Regions from separate parts of the Homo sapiens genome. Here region 1 is linked to region 2. The links are contacts of gene promoters, found by promoter capture Hi-C in human tissues and cell types (Jung and others, 2019). All regions are on one chromosome and are shown on one strand. The core of a region is centred on a gene start or on the middle of the fragment in contact, and the rest is flanking DNA. Distances in the headings are between cores, read along the strand shown. Region 1 overlaps LRRIQ1 (leucine rich repeats and IQ motif containing 1). Region 2 holds the start of ALX1 (ALX homeobox 1).

Region 1 (6,732 bases), core at 1,574-4,073, 37 kb before region 2:
ACCACATTATCGGAGAAACATTCATACTCTTTATTTCTGTCAAAAGCAAATGAAAACGTGTTCACTTAGAGAAATAATTAAAGCCACTATATAATACCACTCTACCCCATTAAAGTGGTTAAAATAAAAAATACTGAAATTATCAAATGTTGACAAGTATGCAGAGCAACTGTATCTCTCATGCATTGCTGGTGAAAATGGTACAGCCACTCTGGAGAAAAAAACTTTATAAGCTTTATAAGCTTGTAAAGACTCTGGTACATTCAGAAGCTTTATAAGCTTCTTATAAAGTTAAATATACACTTAACATACGACCTAATTATTCTTCCTTTGAGCATTTTTCCTAGAGAAGTGGACTTTCATTCAAACAAAAAACTGTACATAAACTTTCATAGCAGTGTTATTTGTAATAGCCAAAACTTAACACAACTCAAATCTCATTGAATGGGTAAAATAATAAAGAAATGATGGTACATACATACAGTGGATATACAACACACAATTAAAAAGCAATAAACAAGAAAGCTGTTGACATATACAAATATTTCCATCGATCTCAAGAACATTATGTTGAGTTAAAAAGGGCTAATCTCAAAAGATTACATGCTGTATTATTTCATTAATATAAGATCCTTAAGCATCACGTAATTATAGTAATAGAGAAAACGTGATTAGTTGCCATGCTTAGATTGGGGAAAGGATGTGACTATAAAGGAGAACAACAGAGTTTCTTTGGGAAGACGGAATAGATTTGTGTCCTAATTGTGATAATAGTTGAATCTATACATATTAATACAATACATAATCTATACATATATGTATGCATAATTTATACATATGATAAAATGTCATAGAACTGCAAACAAGAAAAAATTAGGGCATGTGAAAGCTAGCGAAGTCCTAATAAGGTCAGTAGTTTAGTAATAGTATTGATACAGTGTCAGTTTTCTGGTTTTGTTGATCATGATTTGGTTATGTGAAATGTTGTCATTGAGGCATGCTGGGTGTAGGGTGCATAGGGAACTCATTGCTATATTTTGTAACTTCTATGGGAGTTTTAAACTTCTATGGGAGTTGAACTTCATGTTTAAGGTCTTTGCACTTTACGGCATGTACATTATGTCTTTTAAATATTTAAAGTGCCTTCCCTACCCACATATGTTATATAACAAGACATCTGTCTTATTACATAAGAAAAGGAGTTTATGAAAAGATGATGTATTATGAATTTAGGAGTATGCATAATTCATTTTCTTTACATGAAGTTAAAAAGCTTTTAAAATCACTCATATGTCTAGATATATTACAAATAATTATGTGATATATTTATAGTATATATTGTAATTTTGCCATAATTTGCAAATTATTCTAACAGTTAAAATAAATGAACTAAATCTAGATCTCACATATATAATGTACAGTGAAAAAAGCAAGCAGCAGAAAATATATCATTTATGTTAATTTTGAAATAATACTCTAAAATGTTTGATACATATGTAGAAAAACAAAGTAGCATGTAAGGGGACTTCATCTTTATAAAACTCGCTTTCTCCCTTTATAAAGAAATATCTGGGTAATAAGTACATAGACATTTGTTTTTATGTGTGCTGTTTTGTATATCTTCACTTCCAAAAAGACAATACTTTTAAAATTAATAATTAATAAAATCTTGTTTATGAAAAAAATGTAGAAGAAGAGGAAATCCCTCTTGTTTAATATATGAGAGAGAATCTCTTTTTTAATTAAGTTGCCAAAGTTGGAGGTGAATCAGAATCCAAATGCTTGGAAAGTCCTGTCCCAAAATGTACATCCGTCATTTCATTGTGAAATTATAGGGCGGAAGTGGGGAGAGCGGCAATTACAAACCTTGTAGGTAGGGCGATAAAAGAGATCCGTTCCAAAAACAAAGACCTAAAAGAATTTTGCAAAATTACAGTCTAATAAGTATTTGCCATTATGTTGTATGTGAGAAAATTCTTATCTGACATTAACTTGAGATTATTATATTATAACCATAAAAAATATTGCACTATTTTGGAATCCAACATACGTTTTTGTAGAATAAATGTCGAATGTGTGATCAGTTATCTTCAGGTTAAGTTGGCCCTCCATATCTGTCAACCAACTCTGGATTGAAAATATTCAAACAAACAAAAAATAACAATACAACAATAAAAATGATACAAATAAAAAAACAATAGAGTATAACAACTATTTATGTAGCATTTACATTTATTTAGGTATTAGAAGTAATCTAGAGATTATTTAAAATAGAAGGGAGAATATGCATAGGTTATATGCAAATAATTCTCCATTTTATATAAGGGACATGAGCATCCATGGATTTTGTTATCTGTGGAAGTCCTGAAACAAATCCCCACAAATACTGAGGAACGACTGTATATACAATTTACATGACATTGAAGAAAATCTGTATCTTCTTTACCATTTCTCTATTTTTTAACACTAAGCAGAGAATGATGTTTAGTTGGGAAGCCAATGTTTTCAAAAATAAGATCTAAATATTGTTGCATATCGCTGTGCCAGATTCACTGAAAGACATTTAACTAGCCCATTTATGAAATTTCTAGGTTTGCTTTTAAGCTGCTAAATGGCATCATTGTGAAGCCATGTGTTTCCAGTAATTTTACTTCTAAAGTTTATTTCCTATGTAATTGACCAAATTAGTAACTGACACTAGTTATTTTCTACTTTGGAAAAAATCATCTTTGGATGTTAATTACTTAGATGATAATAAATTTTTTGGAAGGTGTTTATTTACAAATATTTTCTTGACTGTAGGTTTTGTCTTATTTAGGGGAGAGTGGGAATTCTACTTTCTAAATAGGTGTAGTGAAATTATGTCATTACATTTAAATAAATAAACCTCATTTTACAATATTAAGGCTTATAATCTTAAAGCCTCTTTAGTCTTCAGGAGGGTCCCTTATGTGGTTCACATGTTTTTTCTTGTTACCTAAGTAGCCTCTCCAAAATTGTGGTATTGCTTTGATATTTCCCCTTAACTTTTGACTGTTTTTTTTTTTAAGGTTTACCATTGATGGAACTTTTCTAATGCAGCTATTCTAATGTTAGACATGTACTCTTGGATACTATTGAAATACATTTCAAAAATAATGTATAACTTTTATTATTATTATTATTATTATTATTATTATTATTATTATACTTTAAGTTTTAGGGTACCTGTGCACATATAAATCACAAGTATAAATTGGAAACGATTTTTATTTATTTTATTTTAATGTTTTCTACCGAGGTTTTTTGACAATGTCATTATATTACTTAGCCAGTTACATTAAGAATGATTGACATTATACAATGGTTTATATTCTGAACTCAGCAAGAGCAATACTTGCTTACTTAAAAATAGTATGTGAGGCAATACATATGTTAATTTGCTCAATTTAGCCATTCCACAGTGTATATATATATTTTAAAACATTGTGTTGTACATGATACATGTATACAATTTTTGTTTGTCAATTAAGACCAAATAAACAGGGAAAATATAAATAAATTTGGAAAAATAGAAGTATATTAAAATAAATAAATAAATGTAAGTTCATATGTTTAAAAGTAGGAAGAAGGTGGGAGGGGGATGTAAAGGTGAAGGGCAAATATCTGAATTTTAAAGAGGGTCATTTTTGGATACTAGCTCCTTGAGTCTTTGTGGCTCATCTTATGGAGACAGCTTTTTAACCACAGTGGTGGTTTTATGCTTTTATTTTGCTATATTTAAGTTTTCCTAACATCAAACATTAAGAACAATGCATTTTCACAGGATTTCAAGCATAGTGTGGTTTTGGTTAAATCCCAGCTACTCTGAGGCTGCTTTGCTTTCCCTCATGGCATTTCCCCCTATTTCAGAACTGAATCCTAATGTATCTTTATGTAATGATATTCAACATTATGTACAACACTGTTTTATAGGTAAGAAGCAATTATTTTTGGCACTTAGATTCGGTCTAAGTAATACAAATTCAAAGGCAATTTGAGATAAAATAAATAATTTTTATGTTCATTAAATAATGTCCTGAAATATCTATATATTTATAATTATCCCAAAATTAGTATTAAATATATTTTTATATTGATAATGGCTTTAATGAGAAGGTAAAGATGGTCTGTAGCTTAATTGTATGCAAGCATAGGGTGAAAGGCATTTCAGAGAATTTTATTGATAAGACTAATACATATAAGTGGCAACATATAATTTTTGCAAAAAATAACCCCATATGACATGTCTAACATTCAATTAAAAATTAAATAATATACTTGGCAAATAAATAATGTTAAGCTCTTTAAAGTTTCATCAGCTACCTTTGATATTGATTTTCATCAAAATTACTGTACTAAAATGTTTTCTTTTGTTGTACAGACTCAAATAGCAATCCTCAATTTTACAATCGACTCTTATTTGCAAAAAATGCTTTGACATAGTGCATTTGTTCTGCCTGGGCAGCAATAAAGGATTGTGGTATCATTTTGAAGAAGGTTGTTTGACAGAGCCTGTTTGTTTATTTGGGGTAATGTGAGCTGCATTCAGAAAATGCCATATTTTGTTTCATGATTGTATACATTCTCTTCCATTGCTCCCAGGCAAGACTTGTAAGCAGAGAAGACACGGATTTAGACCTTTTTTCCATGACCAATGGAAGTGCTTTGTCTGTGAACAGAGAAAAAAAAAATCAGGCACACAGACACTCAGCAGGATCTTCAAGTAAGTTGTGGTTTCCTTCAAAATTAATTTAGAAATCACAAACGAATTGATGGAACCTAATGCCAACAAGCATTCTTTTTCAGATAGGGGGTAGGATGCCAGCAACCTGAACTGCCCAAAAATGTGTATTTAAATTTTTTCTTTCTTTAAATATCCTCTTTTGATATAAACAAAATTAAATTATTTCTAAAATTAACTGCATCAGTTTTTATTTTAATTGTATTTGGGGCTTCAATATCTCCTGCCCCCCACACCCTGTGAATCATATTGAATTCTTTGATCATTTAATTCTAAAAGAATTTTTTAGACTAATTGTAAGATGTTAGATTTATATATGAAAGTAGTGTGTCTTGGCCTTTTACCATTGATTTAATAGATACTGTATGTAAAGATAATTTCCAAAGATAATTTTTTTAAATAGAAGAGCTTTAAATAATATTATACTATCAGAAAGCATGCTTTCAAAAACTATTTCCATTGCATATGTAAGAGTTTGATTATGTCTATTAATGATGACTCTTAATTCATAAACCTGTCACACACATCTATTACCTTTAACTTGGTGAGAAATATACATATATATTAAATATATAATACATTTATATAACATATTTGTTATATATATGTAGAGAAAGAATATAAAAATAATGATTTCAACAAGAATTATATTGCAATTATTAACTCTGAAAAATGTAAACATTTAAAAAATAGCTGTATCTTGTGGTATTTCACGGGAATCAAGAGCGATTTCTTTCAAAGTCCTTATTTAACCCTAGAGAGTTTGAGATCTCTTCTAAAATGTGACAATACATTAGTATAAAAGATATTTTGCTTAATATTACATTTTGTTAATTTCCCCAATATATAGTGAAACTCAAGATTTAATCGTAATTAAGTCTTTATACTTAATTATAATTATTATTTTTGAAAGAGTTGTATTACTCACTGGTATTATAGTTACATATATACATATATATATAGAGAGAGAGACTCACACACACACACAATACAAAATCAATATTTGATTGAAAGTGAAAAATTCAGTGATCCAGATTGTGCTCTCCGGATAAATGAAAACTTCAAAATGATTATCTGACTTTCACTTTTCATCCAAGTACTTGGCTTTATTAGATTATAATCATTTATATTTATTAATACATGCAAGTTCATTTTGATAAATTTTAATTTACTTTTGAAATAATAATTTTAATACATCTAATTTTGAAATATTTTCCAAGTTTCAAAAACCCTGGAGAGCTTGAAGTTTTCTTACATGATTATAGAATCTGGTCATTGAAATGTTGCCCTAGTCAATATAGTTAAGAAATAAATATTTTAAGTTTAAATTATTCACCTAATGTAAACTTTTTAGTTTTTAACATAATGTACTAACTTTATCAAATTTCAAAATCTTTATTCCATTTCAGAAGTAATCAGCCTGTGTCAATATATATTAATAAATAATGATAATTTTACGCATTGCATATTACAAACTCATATGATATCACTTTGGAGCATTGTAGGTAAGAAATAAGCAAATTAAAAACAAAAACAAAAAATTGCTTTTTCACTTTAGAATTTCAAAACTTCTGTTTATAATGTATTACCTGAATGTTAGCACATGAATAGCTCAATAAATCAGCAACTAGTTTCAAATATGCAAGTTTCATCATTCACTTACATGATATTTAATTATGGATTTTAGAGATATAATTATATAGAGTTCATTTTAACACATTCTCCAAGAAGCTGAAATAATGCAATTCTCACTGTAATTCCAACTACTTGTCAACAAATAATATTACTGAAAACACTACTAATCTCTGAATGTGTTAATAAGCAACAATTTAAGGCAAACTACTTTAGAAGAGTAGAGTTTTAAAAAAATAATAAAATGATTATGAATCAAATACTACTTGCTTAATCACTGTAGTTGCTAAGTAACTATAACAACATCAGTATTATATAATAATAAGGAGTGTGGTCTC
Region 2 (6,657 bases), core at 1,967-4,466:
GCCAAGCTGACTTGCTGGAATTGAGGAGGACTTTTAAAAGCTGTGGTGGTAGGAGCCAAGCTGGATCTGGACGGCTGAAAGCATTTATCAAAGTACTGTGGCCAATTTCCAAGAAGGCTATCCTAAAAGCATTGGTGGAAAAAGCCCAGGTAGATCTCAGGGAAAGTGAGACCATCTCCAATGTAATTTCTTCTCCCTTCTTGTGACTTTTAGAAATTATTGAATTATTATTGTTTTGATTAGTATTATTTTCAATGTATTATTAATGCCCCTATCTCTAGAGCTGTGTCATAACCATAAACTCCATCTCAACCTCTCAAAATTCATGTAATGCAGCTGTTGGCAACCAAATACCCAGCTTCTTGCCAAAAACTGCAGATTAAACATTCGTTATGGGAGTTTGCCATTAGCTGTTTCCTCTGTTATGGGCACATGTGGTTACATGTCACAAAACACACGGGATTCTGTGTAGTATATTTGAGTTTCCAGGGAGCTCCAGGGATATTATGTTGGTTTGGTGACACCTTACACCCCACCCCTTCAACCATTACCATCAAAAGTGAGTTTTGGTAATGGGGCAGAAACGGGTTTACTAGACAGCTCTTGTCCTTGGCTACGCTGTACTTTTCTCTATGAGTTGGACCTTTATTGGCATACAAGTATCCTAGAACTTGTATCACATGTCTTTCATTTAAAAGACACGTAATGTTTTTCCGGAAATTTAGGGCTTTTAAGACATATATTTATAAACAAGCTGACAGAGCTCTACAAGATAACTTGGTTGATAACTAGTTTGTATATTTCCTCAAGTCAGCAATAGGTGTTGTTGTTGCTGCTGTGAATTTTTGTAAAACATATTAAACGACCATTTTCTTATCTTTCCCGTGTTTAGTAGAGAAAGTCAGACTTTCAGGATACCTGAAAATAAGAAGGTACCGAAGGGGATAGGAAAGAATCGAAAATGGCTAACCCAACAGGAGTGAGTGAATAACGCAACACTCAACGTTTCCACAAGGCTGCCCGGGGGCCCGCTGGAAAGTGTCCAAAGAACGCAGAGCTGAGGCTACTGCTCACGCAAGGTCGGGATGCTACAGGACACTTTAAGAAGAGCGTTTCAATGGCTTCTTCCGACACCTCACTCTCTCCCCCTGGGCCTGACCTCAGAATGCCAGGTTGTCTGGTTTGGAGTTCCTGCGGCCCGACGCAGCCTGGCTTCCTGCTGAAGCTCAGTCCCTAGTGCTTTTCTTTGACCTTGCTCCCCTGAAATTTAACAATCTGCAGTTGGTTCTTGCAGCACTGCTCTGGAGAGAGTAATAATAATACAGCAGAAGCTAGTTAGTCCCAGGAATAGTGTCCACTTGCCTGAATCTGAGTGCGCGCTCAAGGCCACACTGAGCGCTGCGCCATGTGAACTAAGCTTGTGCGCCTCCTTGGGAGAACAGTCTGGGTTGGACTTTGGCCGGGCGAGCAAGGCTGCTGCTGCCAGCTGATCTGCTCGGGATCCGCCGGTCGGATCTGGGTGCTTAAGGCCGACCCTGCCTTTCGCGCAACGCTAAGGAGCAGCTCCGGGGTGCACAGCCCTCCCTGATTGTTACTCTCTGGCTGAGGCCTGGTCAGGTCTCGAAGAAGGTCTCACCAAAGAGGCGTGGGTCAGCTAAGACCCCCGCAGAAGGTGGAAACTCTCAAACCCATCAGCATGCCCACCACAGCTGGGCTTGGCCTCACCATCCTCAGAGTCCGGGCTGCTCGGCCTGCCCGAGGCCTCACCATAATTGCCAGACTTGTCTGGGGAAACGCGACGGCCGCTGTGAGTGCCAGTGTTGACAAAGGCTGTGTCAGGACGTCTAAGCAGAGGCCTACCTGGACCAAAACCTGTCTGGCTTATTTTCACCAAATTTGCTAGCTTAGGGTGCCTGACGCAAATGCGATTTTGTGCCCAGGGCACCGAACGCATTTCCCCCAAGCGCCGCGGGCTCCTAGGAAGCCAAGAGTCGTGCCAAAAGTCACACAGAAGGGCTTTCAACCTAGCAGTGCTGTCCTGCCTGCCCTACCATCCCCTCTGGTGGAAATGGAGGCCTTGGACCTGTCCGCGCCCAGGACGCCGCGCCGCGAGTGCCCGCAGCTCCGCGCGCTCACCACTCACTCCCAGAGCGCTTTTCGGAGTAACTCCACAGCAACTCTTTAAAATTAAAAGTAATTTCTGTAAAAATATGCAGACATTCCTCTTCTTCATAAACCCCTATTTGTAACAATCCTCACTTTGGCATTAGAGTAAAAGCCTTTCAAAGGCACTGATCCTAACGGGTTTTCTTAAAATAATTTGGGTCTAATGATAAAATCGTGGACCAAAGGGAAGGGTGGCGAAGAGGGTGTAGGGAATTGGTTGGCATTAGTATAATGGCTTCATTGCCTCTTGCTCGGCTTCTCTCTCCCACCCATCGCCACCGCGTCCACACTCCGCCGCATTCCAGAGAAAAAGAAAAGGCCACGGCCTCGTAAAGCTCCCAGCTGGCCCGGACCCCGAGCTCCTCCCGGTTAGAAGCCGAAGCGGCCCCTCTACTACGGCGGCTGCGATTAACAGTTGCCAATGCATCTGGTTCCTTGGGCTTCGGATTAATGTGAATCTTCCACGTAAACGATTTACGGATGAAATAAAAGCCTTTTAGAGCAATATTTCCTTTCAAGTTCTTAAGACGCCTCTAAATCTTTCTGGTAGTGAGTGGCCGGCATGGGGGCGGGGTGGGGACGGGTGGCTCAGGAAGGCGCAGGCAGTAGGGAGTGGAGGTTTAACTGCTTTGCGATCTCACCAAGATCTTCCGAAATGCCAGTCCACTGTCACGGCGGCAATGAATCTGGGTGTCAGGGGCTCGTCTCTCCTGGCATTTGTCTGAAATGGAGCTGTCTGTCTGTCTATCCTAGGCCTGGACGCCCTCTGCCCGGGTAAGTGGGGAAAATGGGGGTGGGGTAGGGGCGGAGGGGGACCTGGGGTGGAGTTAGTCGCCCGCCTATTTTCATATTCATTAGAACTGGGAGGCTGCCCGAGGAGGCCAGCTGAGTTTCAAGATATAAAAGCAACTTCGGGTGCTCCTTTTCCAGCCGGGACGTATTAAAGGGACCGGAGCGGGGCAGTTCCCGACGCCGCAGCGCTCGCTTTCCCTTCCCTCCTCTCTGGCCCTCCCTCCTCCCACCCACTGGCTCCCTCCCCCAGCGCTCTCCAGTTTCTGTGCCCCAGGAGCTACGCGACAGTCTTCCAGGATTATGGAGTTTCTGAGCGAGAAGTTTGCCCTCAAGAGCCCTCCGAGTAAAAACAGTGACTTTTACATGGGCGCAGGAGGTCCTCTGGAGCACGTTATGGAGACGCTGGACAATGAGTCCTTTTACAGCAAAGCGTCTGCAGGCAAATGCGTGCAGGCCTTCGGACCCCTGCCCCGCGCCGAGCATCACGTGCGCTTGGAGAGGACCTCGCCCTGTCAGGACAGCAGCGGTGAGTCGCTAGCGCCCCAGCCGGAGCCGCCGCAGCCCTTCCGCAATCGAAAATGCAGGATCGGTCTGATCAGGCAGGGAGGGAGAAAGGAGAAAAGTGGGAGCGAGGGACCTGGAAGGTGGAGGAAGGTAGTGGAAGGTGCTCGCTTTATGAAGCGGTGTTACTGCTGCTGCAGCCTTTGGGGGCGGAGGGCGGAGGGAGGGAGAGATCCAGCACCGGGTTGCCTCTGAGCGATTCTCCTTTCGCTGTAGGGTCTGGTCGCCTACGGATCCCTGAGTCCTTCTGTAATATTGGTTCCTGGAGTAAACTGATAGGGCGCTAAATAGAGCGTAATTGAGTCAAGACAGAACGCTTCCTCTGCGAGCCCGCCTTGCAGTCCGGGCGGTAGGAACTGAAATCGATCACAGCTCGTTAGAGTACGTCACTGTCGTCACGAGTAGGGAAAAAAAAACCGGAAAACAAAAACAAAAAACAAAAAACCCTTTGAGCTCCTTTAGGTAAAGATAAATCTTTTTAATTTTCCAAGACGTGGCGATATATTTTCAAAGTTTGAGGATCCCTAGATTTCTAGCGTGTGTGAATTTGTAATTTCTGCTTTTTTTTGCGTTTGCAATACAACACGCGTTGAATGTTTGTTAAACACTAAAGCACACTAAATAGCTTCGGGCAAACCATCCCCGGCCTAATCACTCATTCCCAGATTCTACGTTTTGTATTTTTATGACTTCACATTAAAAGTCACCTAAGGAGTCTTTGGAATGCTTCTGGGTGAAATCTTCAACTTTGAATGCCCAAGTATCTCCAAGTCAAAATGTTATCAAAACAAACCATCTATCTTTTCTATCTTGTAACCTAATACTAACCTATTATTTCAGATCGCGACAGCTAAAGCACGTTTACAATTCCAAGAGAACTTCTCCTTATCATTGTATATATTCCACAGTTAAGCTATAAGGGGCGGGTTGCTTTAAAATAACAAACGAATTAAGTGTGAAATATTTACAACAAGCCCCCTGCCCCCTATTTTATAGAAATTCAAAATCTGACAAAACACTGGCCTGTAGAAGCTCATTTTCTAAATATTTTGAACACAAGTTTTTTTCTTTTATTAATCTCATATTTAACTAATTTTATTTAACGTTGCAAGTAACTTTTGACTAAGGGTAAATCAAAAATAAAGGTGCAAATGATAGAGAAAATAATCAGCTAAGTCGTTTCAGTCATTTATTTAGAAAGATTCGAGCGTATACTTTTTGTTATTCTTACACTGAGTTGTTGGTTTTCTGGCTGCGTTTCAGACCTGGTATCTGTATTTGTGGAATTCTTAGGTGCATGCCTAACGTTATTTGAATTGACAGGTCTTTCTTTAATGATTCTGCAATGTCTTGTATTGACTCTGGATGGACTTGATCATAATATTTTATTTTGAATAGTCGAGAATCCAAAATAAGAGACATAATTGATGCGTTATCAACTTTTAAACAAATATCACACTATTAAGATGAATTATAACAAAGAAGTGTTAAGGAAGATGAACATAGGCAGTCATCCGCTTAATTTAGGAGAGATCCTGTCTTTCTCTTGAGATGCCCTTAGCCTCTCTGATGCTTCCCCTCCCCCATCCCTAATTGCTGCAGTTCCCCCTTTAATTTTGCCCAAGGAGATAGAACCGTTTGTTAATCAGTCATGGCTCTTCTTTATATTTGGTTTAACATCACATCTTCGTTTGCATGAAAACCGTTAATTTAAAAAATTTGTTATATATATATATAGACAAATTATAGTTGTATATATTTATGGGGTACAAAGTAATGTTAAGTTTTTTTAATGCAATGTGGAATGATTAAATTACGTTAATTGGCCATCACCTCAAATATTTGACATTTTTTATTATGAGAACATTTTTGAGAGTTACTCCGTTAGTGACATTGAAATGCACAGTACTCAATTATTAGCTATTGAAGTTATATGCGCATTAAACTTGAATATATTTGTATAATGATGAAAAGAGTTGTAAAAATACATTATGGGGGTAATTTTAAAAAAAGAAACAAATGAAAAAAGTATGATCATCTATTGGAAATTATTATTCTGGCTGGTTTGACTTTACTTTTTAAAAAGTGCTTCCCATTTCACTATGTGCATCCATTGCATTTGTGGGTGTTTGGCATTATATGATATATCTTTGTTTTATATCACACTGCAAGCATGCAATCAAATCTGAAGAAAATTACTGAAATTAAACATCCCTTAACAGAATGCCAGATGTCATGCTCTGTAATGTTTTAATAGCTGTTTTAATTTCTGTGTTTCAGCAGAGAAAATAGAAAAGTTTTCAATCCCAAAACTTATCTAACTAGCTAAGCAGAAATATGAAATGTTTTAAAAAGAACTGCGTAAGTTTTTAGGTAAAAAAAAAAAATGCTGCTTAAATCTAATTTCCGATAGAAAGCGTATTCAAAATTTGGCATGAAATTTATTTTGTCAATTTAGTAGATTATTTTTGAAGAAAAAGTGTAAATGCAGACATGGATATAAAGTTGAAATATTCAAAATTTAGTGGAAATAATGTCACATCTGAAATCTATCATCAGTACGTTTTACGTGGAGGAGGATAATAACTTTCAGATATTAGTACAGAGGTATTATTTAAGATTAAAATATATTTTCTGAGCCACATTAGTAGCTTGGTTTTATCTGCTGTGAATAAAACACATGACATTAAATTTGCTTCAGTTTTCAAAAATCATGGACACTTAAAGTTTCTTTCATGAAACACCCAGATCATCTTTTAATTCGAGTACATGAATTTAAGTAAAAAACATGTGCATAAACTTATAAATCCTGTAAAATAGAACTGCGGATTTTGGCAGATCATAGCAGTTGCATGAACACATTTTAAAATGGTATTTAAACCTGTCCTACAATGAATTAAGTATAGAAATGTGGTAATTGAATTAATACTAGCACAATAAATTATTAATAGGCCAATTTCTTGATACTCTCAATTACTTCTACTTATTGATTTAATTGAGATGAGTTTCACAATCCTGAGAACTGTTGTTTTTCCTCCTCTGGGTACAGTGAACTATGGGATCACTAAAGTAGAAGGACAGCCCCTTCACACCGAACTGAATAGAGCTATGGACAACTGTAACAGTCTCCGAATGTCT

Evidence for each region. The method cuts DNA at HindIII sites, captures the fragments that hold promoters and counts their contacts. A contact is called where the count stands out against the background at its distance.
Region 1: a fragment that was not itself captured here is called in contact with the fragment with the promoter of ALX1 in region 2 in 8 of the 25 tissues and cell types used here (H1 embryonic stem cells, adrenal gland, liver and 5 more).

The regions. Positions count from the first base shown.
Region 1 is chr12:85,240,166-85,246,897 of GRCh38, forward strand. LRRIQ1 (leucine rich repeats and IQ motif containing 1) reads left to right here. Exons shown (of 27, transcript NM_001079910.2): 27 at 4,624-4,940. The coding sequence ends at 4,776. Among named protein-coding and RNA genes, the nearest start is that of ALX1, 37 kb to the right of the region's middle. The HindIII fragment of the contact is 9,323 bases long and covers 1-6,732 here.
Region 2 is chr12:85,277,004-85,283,660 of GRCh38, forward strand. It overlaps ALX1 (ALX homeobox 1), which reads left to right and starts at 3,217. Exons shown (of 4, transcript NM_006982.3): 1 at 3,217-3,484; 2 at 6,569-6,657. The coding sequence starts at 3,259. RefSeq lists a silencer at 3,308-3,602. The HindIII fragment of the contact is 12,363 bases long and covers 1-6,657 here.